Regions from separate parts of the Homo sapiens genome. Here region 1 is linked to region 2. The links are contacts of gene promoters, found by promoter capture Hi-C in human tissues and cell types (Jung and others, 2019). All regions are on one chromosome and are shown on one strand. The core of a region is centred on a gene start or on the middle of the fragment in contact, and the rest is flanking DNA. Distances in the headings are between cores, read along the strand shown. Region 1 has its middle 79 kb from the start of MORN1. Region 2 holds the start of NADK (NAD kinase).

What was found. Contacts are between HindIII fragments. The study calls those that stand out against the background at their distance.
Region 1: a fragment that was not itself captured here is called in contact with the fragment with the promoter of NADK in region 2 in 1 of the 25 tissues and cell types used here (dorsolateral prefrontal cortex).

Annotation. Positions count from the first base shown.
Region 1 is chr1:2,310,759-2,314,679 of GRCh38, reverse strand. No RefSeq gene overlaps it. Among named protein-coding and RNA genes, the nearest start is that of MORN1, 79 kb to the left of the region's middle. RefSeq lists a silencer at 1-53 and an enhancer at 853-1,506. The HindIII fragment of the contact is 5,543 bases long and covers 1-3,921 here.
Region 2 is chr1:1,776,859-1,780,778 of GRCh38, reverse strand. It overlaps NADK (NAD kinase), which reads left to right and starts at 2,309. Exons shown (of 12, transcript NM_023018.5): 1 at 2,309-2,490. RefSeq lists enhancers at 104-203, 214-283, 294-353, 364-533 and a silencer at 1,594-2,793. The HindIII fragment of the contact is 25,831 bases long and covers 1-3,920 here.

The DNA.
Region 1 (3,921 bases), core at 777-3,276, 530 kb before region 2:
CCTGAGGACGCGGCGCGGGGCCCGGGACGTGCACCCCTCCCCACCCCCCCAGCGCGGCTTCCGGCCCGGGCGAAGGAGCGGGATTGGGAAGGTTTCGGAGCCGGCGCTGGAATTCCTGGGTAGTTCCTCCGCCACCGCCCTTCCCCCGCGAGGCCGGCCTCCGACGGGGCCTCTCCAGGGTGAGGGGCAGGCCCTGGCCTGGAGCCAGAAACAGGATTTCCCCGGATGCCAGGACAGCGCCAGGGCCGGGGACAGGCCGGGGCCCCACTGCGGGTTTTCTGTCCTGCGCAGCAGTGACCCCGCAGACTTCGCGCACGGGGCGCAGGATGGGGTAGGGGGCCCAGAGCCTTGGTCTGTCGGACCCTCAGCGGCCAGCGCAGGTCGGTGGTCATTTCGGAGTTCCGGCCACTGTCCTGTGCAGGAGTGACCCTGGAGGCCGCCTTGGTTTGGCCTGGGAGGATTCTAAACACGGAGGGGCCAACACCGAGACCCGAGAGACCCCGGCCTAAACCTGACCCAGTGCCGGCCACACCAGCCACGGCCCTCCTGGCATCCCTGGGATCACAGAATGGGACAGCCTCCCCACCCACAATCCCCCCAGGCCCTGGCGAGGGCAGCTCCTCCGACGCTACAGCCTTTTTCCTAGGACTGTTTTTCCTTAGAAACAGGAAGCTGGGGCATGGGCATCACGTCCCTCGGGTGCAGGCCCCACCAGGGGCAGGGCAGAGTGGGGCTGGACCACAGGGCACACAGTACCTTGCCCAGCTCCTGCCCCAGGGTGGGCACAGCAGGGCGCAGGGCGGTGTCCATCTGCAACTGGTAGCCTGGCCTAACCTGGGCATAGCACCGACCAGGGTCATTTCACCCAGCTGGGGGCATCTCCATGAGGGAGGACACGCAGAGCTCCATCGTCTGTCCCTGGTTCCTGCTTGCCCTCCACCAAGACCCCAGCCTGGCCAGGCCCACCTTGCAGGAAGGGCCAGAAGGTTCCGACAGCAGAGAGGGGGACAGGGCTGTCAGGGAGAATCTGGCAGGGCCAGGCCAGGGGGGCAGCAGCTGGCACTGGCCAGGGTACACGGGACCCTCCAGGGTTCGGGGCTGGTGGCCTGCCCGGCCCCCACCAAGGCCTCTAGACGGCCCTCGACCCTCCACACCCCTGGTCTCTCGTTCTAGATCTGGATGGCACCCAATCCTGGTTTCTGGGCTGAGCTGGGCAGCCAGGAGCCCACCCTTCCAAGCCAGCCAGTTGTATCTCCACGGGGCCTGGGCACTTGGCACCCCTATACCTAAGAGTGTCCTTGGGACAGCTGCGGGGAGGGGCAGGAGACTGGGAGACACTGCTGCCTGGGCTGACCCAGGGAGCCCCTGCCTCCAGCCCCTACCTCCCCACCTCCCCACGGTTCCCTGTCCCTGGAAGTTTCTGGAACAGGCCTCCTTTGCAGGAGGAGCCATGGAGGCCGAGCCTGGGCTGCACTTCTTGCCAGTAAGAGCTGCCAGGCCCGGCCATGGGAGAGAAAGGTCCGTTCCCAGCCCGGCTGGACACCTGGCCCAGCACAGGACACTGCAAAGACAAGCCAGGCTGGCCAGGCTGCCCCTGCCGGTCCTCACCCGCAGCGGGGCCACCTGCTCCAGGGCTGGGTGCCCCAGCCATTGAGGCCCCCACCCACCTGGCACAGGCCAGGCACAGATGGCCATGTGCGTCACTGAGACCGGGGGGTGGCAGGGCTGGGCGGGCATCCAGTCCCCAAATGTTCTGTCCTCACCCCCTCCCCAGGGTCCGCTGTGGGTGGAGTAGACAGGGCAGTTTCTGTGGGGAGGGTCGGGACCCCCCCGGGGCCAACACATCAGGGTCACGACCCCATCATTTCTGGAGGGCAGGCGGCCCTGGCCTGGGGGTGTCCCTGTGGGCTCCGCACCTCCTTCCAGCGGAGGCTCCGTGGGGTCAGAGGCCGGGTCGCCTGGAGCAGGACCAGCAGCTGTGCAGAGGCTACGAGAACAGAGTGGGTGGGGGCTGCCTCTTCCTGGCCAGAAGGAAGTGGGGGAGTCAAAGCAGGTGCTGGGACGTGGGGGTGGCCAGGCCTGGGCCAGGATGGGGTCGGGGTCTGGGCCTGTGGGCTGGGGCAATGGGTAGAGCCCCTCATGCAGCCATGAGGGGGTGTCCAGCTTGGGGGCCCCTGGCCATGCCCTTGGAGCACTGCGCTGGGGCAGGAGGGCGGGTTGGGGGTGAAGTGAGGGAGGAGCCGGGTCCCTGCTTAGGCTTAGGGCTGGGGCCGGACACGCGGGGCTGAACCAGTGGCTGCAGTAACTGGTCAGCAGTCTCCACTCCCCACCTAGGACGTGCTGGCCGCTGCCTCCCCAGACAAGGTCAGGCTGCTCAGCCGTTGTCGGCCCCCTTGACCACAGGCTGGTGGGTGAAGGCTGGCAGGACTGTGGCTCCAGGAGGAGGGGGAGACCAGCACAGCTGAGACCTAAGGACAGCTGTTGGTGACTGAGGCAGAAATGGGTGGGGCACAGGGTGGGGCAGAAACTAGGGAGGTGGGGGAGCCCCCATCCCCTTCCCTGAGCTCATCTTCCCCAGACCCCAGCTCTTGGGGGCTTGGGAACAGGCACTGCCAGGAACAGGGGTACTGGGAGCTGCCCTTCCAGGGAGCTGAGGCTGGAGGGCTAACCCGTGGTCCCTGCAGAGGCCCAGGCAGGTGTGAATGCTGGGAGTCCTGAGCCTGAGGATGCAGAGGTAGGGTGGGGAGGGCCATCTCTCTCCCCCCACCTCTGCCCTCCCCTGGCATGGAGGCAGGGAGCTTCTCCCACCCAGGCCTCCTCTCCCCCAGCACTCAGGAGACCCCTGGATCCCTTCGGAACAGCTTTGGGAAGAGGGTTCTGACCCTGGGTGACGGCTGGCCTAGCTCAGCAGGTGGCCAGAGCCCTTTAAAGCTCTAAGTTTATACCCAAAGGTAAACACCAAAGAGAAGCCTGGGGCAGCTTGGGGAACAACTGAGCCCAGAGCACCGCCCCTCCCTGCCCCCACGTGGCTGCTGGAGGCAGTGCCTTTGAGTCTCCGGGAGGGTCGGGAGGGCCGTCATCAAGCCCTGCGGTGCTCAGCTCCGAGGCAGAGTGCCCATGTGGCCACAGGGACGGTCCTCGAGGCCCACCCAGGACCTCGGCCCAGCCCTTCCCCAACTCCTCCCCACTGCACTGGACCCCGGGCTGGTCCTCTGTGCTCACAACTGACTCAGTCTCAGGGTCCTGCCAGCGGCACTCTGGAGCCGCCCATCCTCTGCCCCCCAGAACATGCACGTGCCCAGGACCAGTCCACACCCACTCCTGCTGTGGCCCATGTTCCCCTCGGCCCACGCCCCTGCCCACTGCCCCCAACACCCAGGGGCCTAGCCTGGATGGAGAAGCCAGGCCCATGTGGAGTGGGTGTTTTGAGGCCTGCTGGGGTAGGCCTGTGTGGTCTAGAGGCCGCCCTGTACCCTCCGTGGGGGCTCTATGAGCCCTTTGGGGCCCTGGGCAGGGAAGAAGGAAGCCCCTATGTGGCAGTGAGGGGAGGGCCAGGTCTGCTCTAGCCCCAAGCTTGGGGGCACTTCCCGAGGGGTGGAGAGAAGAGATGGGGACCTGGAAATTGTGCCGGGAGGCTGGGGGGAGGGGCCGGCTGGAGCCCCTACCAGCCCATGCCTTTCTCGGACCACAACCCAGATGACCTATGAGGGCCTGGATGGGCTGGAGATGCTGGATGTGATGGCCTAAGGAAGCCTAGAGAGGTGGTGGCCTGGCACCCCAGGGAGCCCACCCGGGGCTGTGCCTCCATGAAATTGGCATGCGGCATGGCACCTCCAATCCCCAGAACAGGGGTCTGGGAAGGCCCCCCTGTGAGGTCAGGTGGGGAGAAGGGACCTCTGTGTCTCCCTCGGGGCAGCTCGC
Region 2 (3,920 bases), core at 1,060-3,559:
ATGATAGCCCTGGACCCTTCTGTTCCTGCTGCGGGAACATCTCTTCCCTTTGGTCTCAGCCCAAGCAAAGCTGCCTCTTGGACCATTCTGGGTGCCCTAAGGAGCCTTCCCAGCTTTGGTCTTAGTTATTGCTGGCCAGGCCTGGGGTGAGGTGTGGGTGTGAGATCTTGGCCCCTGAATCTTCAAGGTCATATCCGGGGCCTGCCCTGAGAAATTGCACAACCTGTCAGCTGAAGGAAACCACAGCCCTGGTTTTGTTTTCTCATCTCTGAAACAGGGAAGCTCTCCTGCAGGCAGTGCCCAGGCCCAGGGTAGACAAAGGGTTTTCATGCCACAGACGGGGCAGCTGCTGGAGCTCCCTACACAGCGGGACACGCGAAGGGCACCTGCTGTGTGACCTGGGGCCCACGACAGTCACTGGTTGCCTCTGCAGAAGCAGTTGACTGCCTCCACTCTAGAAGATTCTACTGAGGCCTGGCTCAGTGCCTGGCTTGTGGGTGCGCCATCTAGATCAAGCATTATTATGCTAATGATCATATGCAAAAACTCAGCTCACGCATTATTATGTTAATGATCTTATCCGCCCCCTCTCCCCCCGCCAAAGAAAAAGAACTGGGCAGCTCAAGGCCGCTTCTGTGGGTGTGGCTGGTGGTCACTTTGAAACAGTTGGGTTTGCAAAATAACCCCGGGAGAAGTTACAGAGCTTAAGAAATCCCCCAAGTTCTCATGATCCTTGCTTCCCTTTCCAGTCACCCTTGGTGCCCTGTACTTCACTGTGGTCCTGAACTGAAGAGCTGTGTTTTTCAGGAAGACTTGGCCAGGCCGTGTTCCGTGTCTCTGGATTCAAGTCCCAGGAGTCCTGACCAGAGAGCAGGTATGCGGGTGTGGGGAAGGGCTGCAGAGGACTCAGGTCCACACCGACCCTGGGCCAGGTGATCACACAGAAAGTATAGACAGGGACTGAACCTCAGAAAACAATGGCTGGGCCAGGTGCAGTGGCTTACGCCTATAATCCTAGTACTTTGGGAGGCCGAGGCGGGTGAAGTTTGAGACCCAGCCTGGGCAAAATGGTAAAACCTCATCTCTACACACACACACACACACACACACAAATATATATATATATGAATGAAGTAGTCGAGTGTGGCGGGACCTACTTGTAGTCCCAACTACTAGGGAAGCTGAAGTGGAAGGATCGCTTGCACCTGAGAGGTCAAGGCTGCAGTGAGCCGTGAGCCCGCCACTGGACTCCGGCCTGGGGGACGAATGAGACACTATCTCAGAAAAACAAAACAATGTCTGGCACCTGGGGGACCAGCAGGTTAGAGCAGCTGGTCGTGCATTGCCAGTTTACCTGACAGTGACTCGAGAGCTGAGAACTGGGTATAGGGCACATTATTGGGATATTTGAGGCCTGAAGGCGCTGATGAGCAGCCACCAGTTCAGCAAGTGCGGGCTGGGTGGGACCCGCAGTTCCAACAAACACTACAAAGTCCGCTCCTGTGGCTTTGGCCTCCTCCCCCAACTCCCCGAGTCCTCCAGCCTGTGGGGTGCGCAAAACACGGCTCCCTGGTCCCCCTAGAGGTGCCCCAGGCCACCGGGTCCTCCCTCCACTGCCAGCCTTGGGATCCCAAGCGTAGACCTCTGAGGACGTTCGTGGGCGTGCAAGGCGCACCTGGCCGCTAGAGGTGGGCGTGAGGCCGATCGCGGTTCCCCCAGGCGCAGGGCCGCCCTCCCAGCCCCGACGGACAGCCCCGAGGGAGCGCAGCGCTGCCGCAGCTGCTCTAAGTTTCGGTTCCCAAATCCGGCTCGGCCCACACCGTGTCACAGCCCGGTAATTAGGGAAGCGGCGGCGGGCGGGGCCAGCTCTCGCGGGGCACCTGCACTCCCCTGAGCCGGCCCACGTGGTCCGGGAGGTCCCGCCCGCGGTGGCGGTGAGTTGGGGGCGGGACGCCGGGCTGGGATCACAATGTCGGGGGCGCCTAGGCGTAGACGTGGCGGGCGGACCCGGGGGCGCCCTCCGGACGCGGCAGGTGAGTGGGGACGGGAGCCGGGGGCCGCCCTCCTCGGGGCGCCGACCCCCGCCTACCCGAGTCGCGGACGCCCGCCCCTGTCCCCGCTGCCCGCCTCCACTCCCTGGTCACTGCTCTCCACCGCGATTCGCCCCTCTTCCCCACCGCCCGCCTCTTTCCCGCCACGCCCGCCGCCTCCCGCCCGCGCGGGGTGTCCCGGCGCCGGTGGGACCCGGCAGACGCGCGGGACGCCCCACGTGCGCGGCAGCGCGCATGCGTGGCGGGTGCGCCTGCGCAGTGGGCGGGCGCGGCGCATTGCTGCTCGGCGGCGCCGGCGCCGGGGTCCGGGCGGCCATGGGGCAACAGGCGGCCAGGGCGCCAAGGGCCAGGTAGCGACGGCTGGCGGCGGCGCGGCGGCGGGGCCTGCGGGCTCGGTCCGGCATGTAGACGCCCCCGCAGGCGCCCGCGGCAGCGAACGGTGAGTGAGCAGACCCGGCCTGCCGTCCGCCTGGGGTCGCCCGCTGCCTGGGGTCATCGCTGCCCGCGAGCGCGCGGCCAGGCGGGGAGACACCAGGCCGGCCCTGCCCATCTGGCCTGCTGAGGAGGCCGTGGAAGTGCTGACGGGCCACCGCTCCGTCCCGAATGGGGCACCAGCACGGCCCAGGGCGAGGCTCGGCCTTGGGGACGGGTCTGAGGGAGGCCGCTGTCCGGCCTGGCTCTCCCGGGCGGGGAAGGTGGGGCCGTCCAGCCCGGACCGCGCTTGTCAGTCGCCTCTGCTTGGGCGGCCAGGTCCTCGGTGTCCGGCCTTCCGTGGGTGGTTTCAGCAAGCAGGAGGGGTCTTTGACTCGTGAAAGCTTAGAGGGGCCCAAACCTAGTGGGAAAGTATGAATAAAAGATTCTATACAGCAGTATTGGCATGGAATTCTCTAAAAACACATCTCTGATTTAGTGCCCAGTACTTGCCAGAAAATTCCAATAGTCTATGGTGATGTTCCTACAGGCGGCTGCCATCCAGTAGGTCAGATGTCAGCACCGGCCTTGAGCTCTAGGTCGTCGTTTTTTTTCTTAATTGTGGGAACAGGGCGTGCCCAGCTCCGAAGGCCTGGTGGAGTTTTCCTTCCCAGGCCAAGGACCACCCCCACCCTCCCATCCCTCCTCCCCAAGCAATGAGATTCCTTTTGGCTTCGATTCCGAGTAACAAGTTATTTTTCCTTTCTTGTTTTGGAACACACTAAGTTTTACATTCAAAAGTTCATTATTCTTGGCTCTTGATGGGAATACATTTCAAAACTCTTCTCTTCTTGTGTTCCATGTCTCTCTGACAGCCTTAGTTGGCCTGAAACTGACATGTTTGCCTTAATAAGTTTTTTTTTCCTCCTGATGTCATCTTGTCTAAGAAGCTAGTTACTTTAACACCTTGTTAGATAATTCCCTTCAAGTACTTATTCCCCTGAACATTGTCCTCTCAAGCCTCTGGAAATTTCCTGTCCCCTTGGAACTTCTCTGTAAGGCCTGTTTGCTCTCAGCAGTGACTTCACTGGGACTTTTGCAGCCACTTTATGGTGTTAGCACGCTGATTCCAAGCTACTTGAGGAATCACAGGTGCCACCGCAGTACCCAACAAAATAGCTTCATCATTTGGAGGTGTCCTCTCGAGATGTTTCTGTGTGTATATGTGTGTGTATGTTAGAAACAGGGCCTCACTCTGTCCTCCAGGCGTGTTTATGGTGGCATGATTATAGCTCACTGTAACCTCAAATTCCTGGGCTCAATTGATCCTCCCACCTCAGCCTCCTGAGTAGCTGGGATTACAGGCCTGCACCACCACACCTAGCTGATTTATAAAATTTTTTGTAGAGATAGAGTCTCACTGTGTTGTCCAGGCTAGTCTCAACCTCCTGGCCTCAA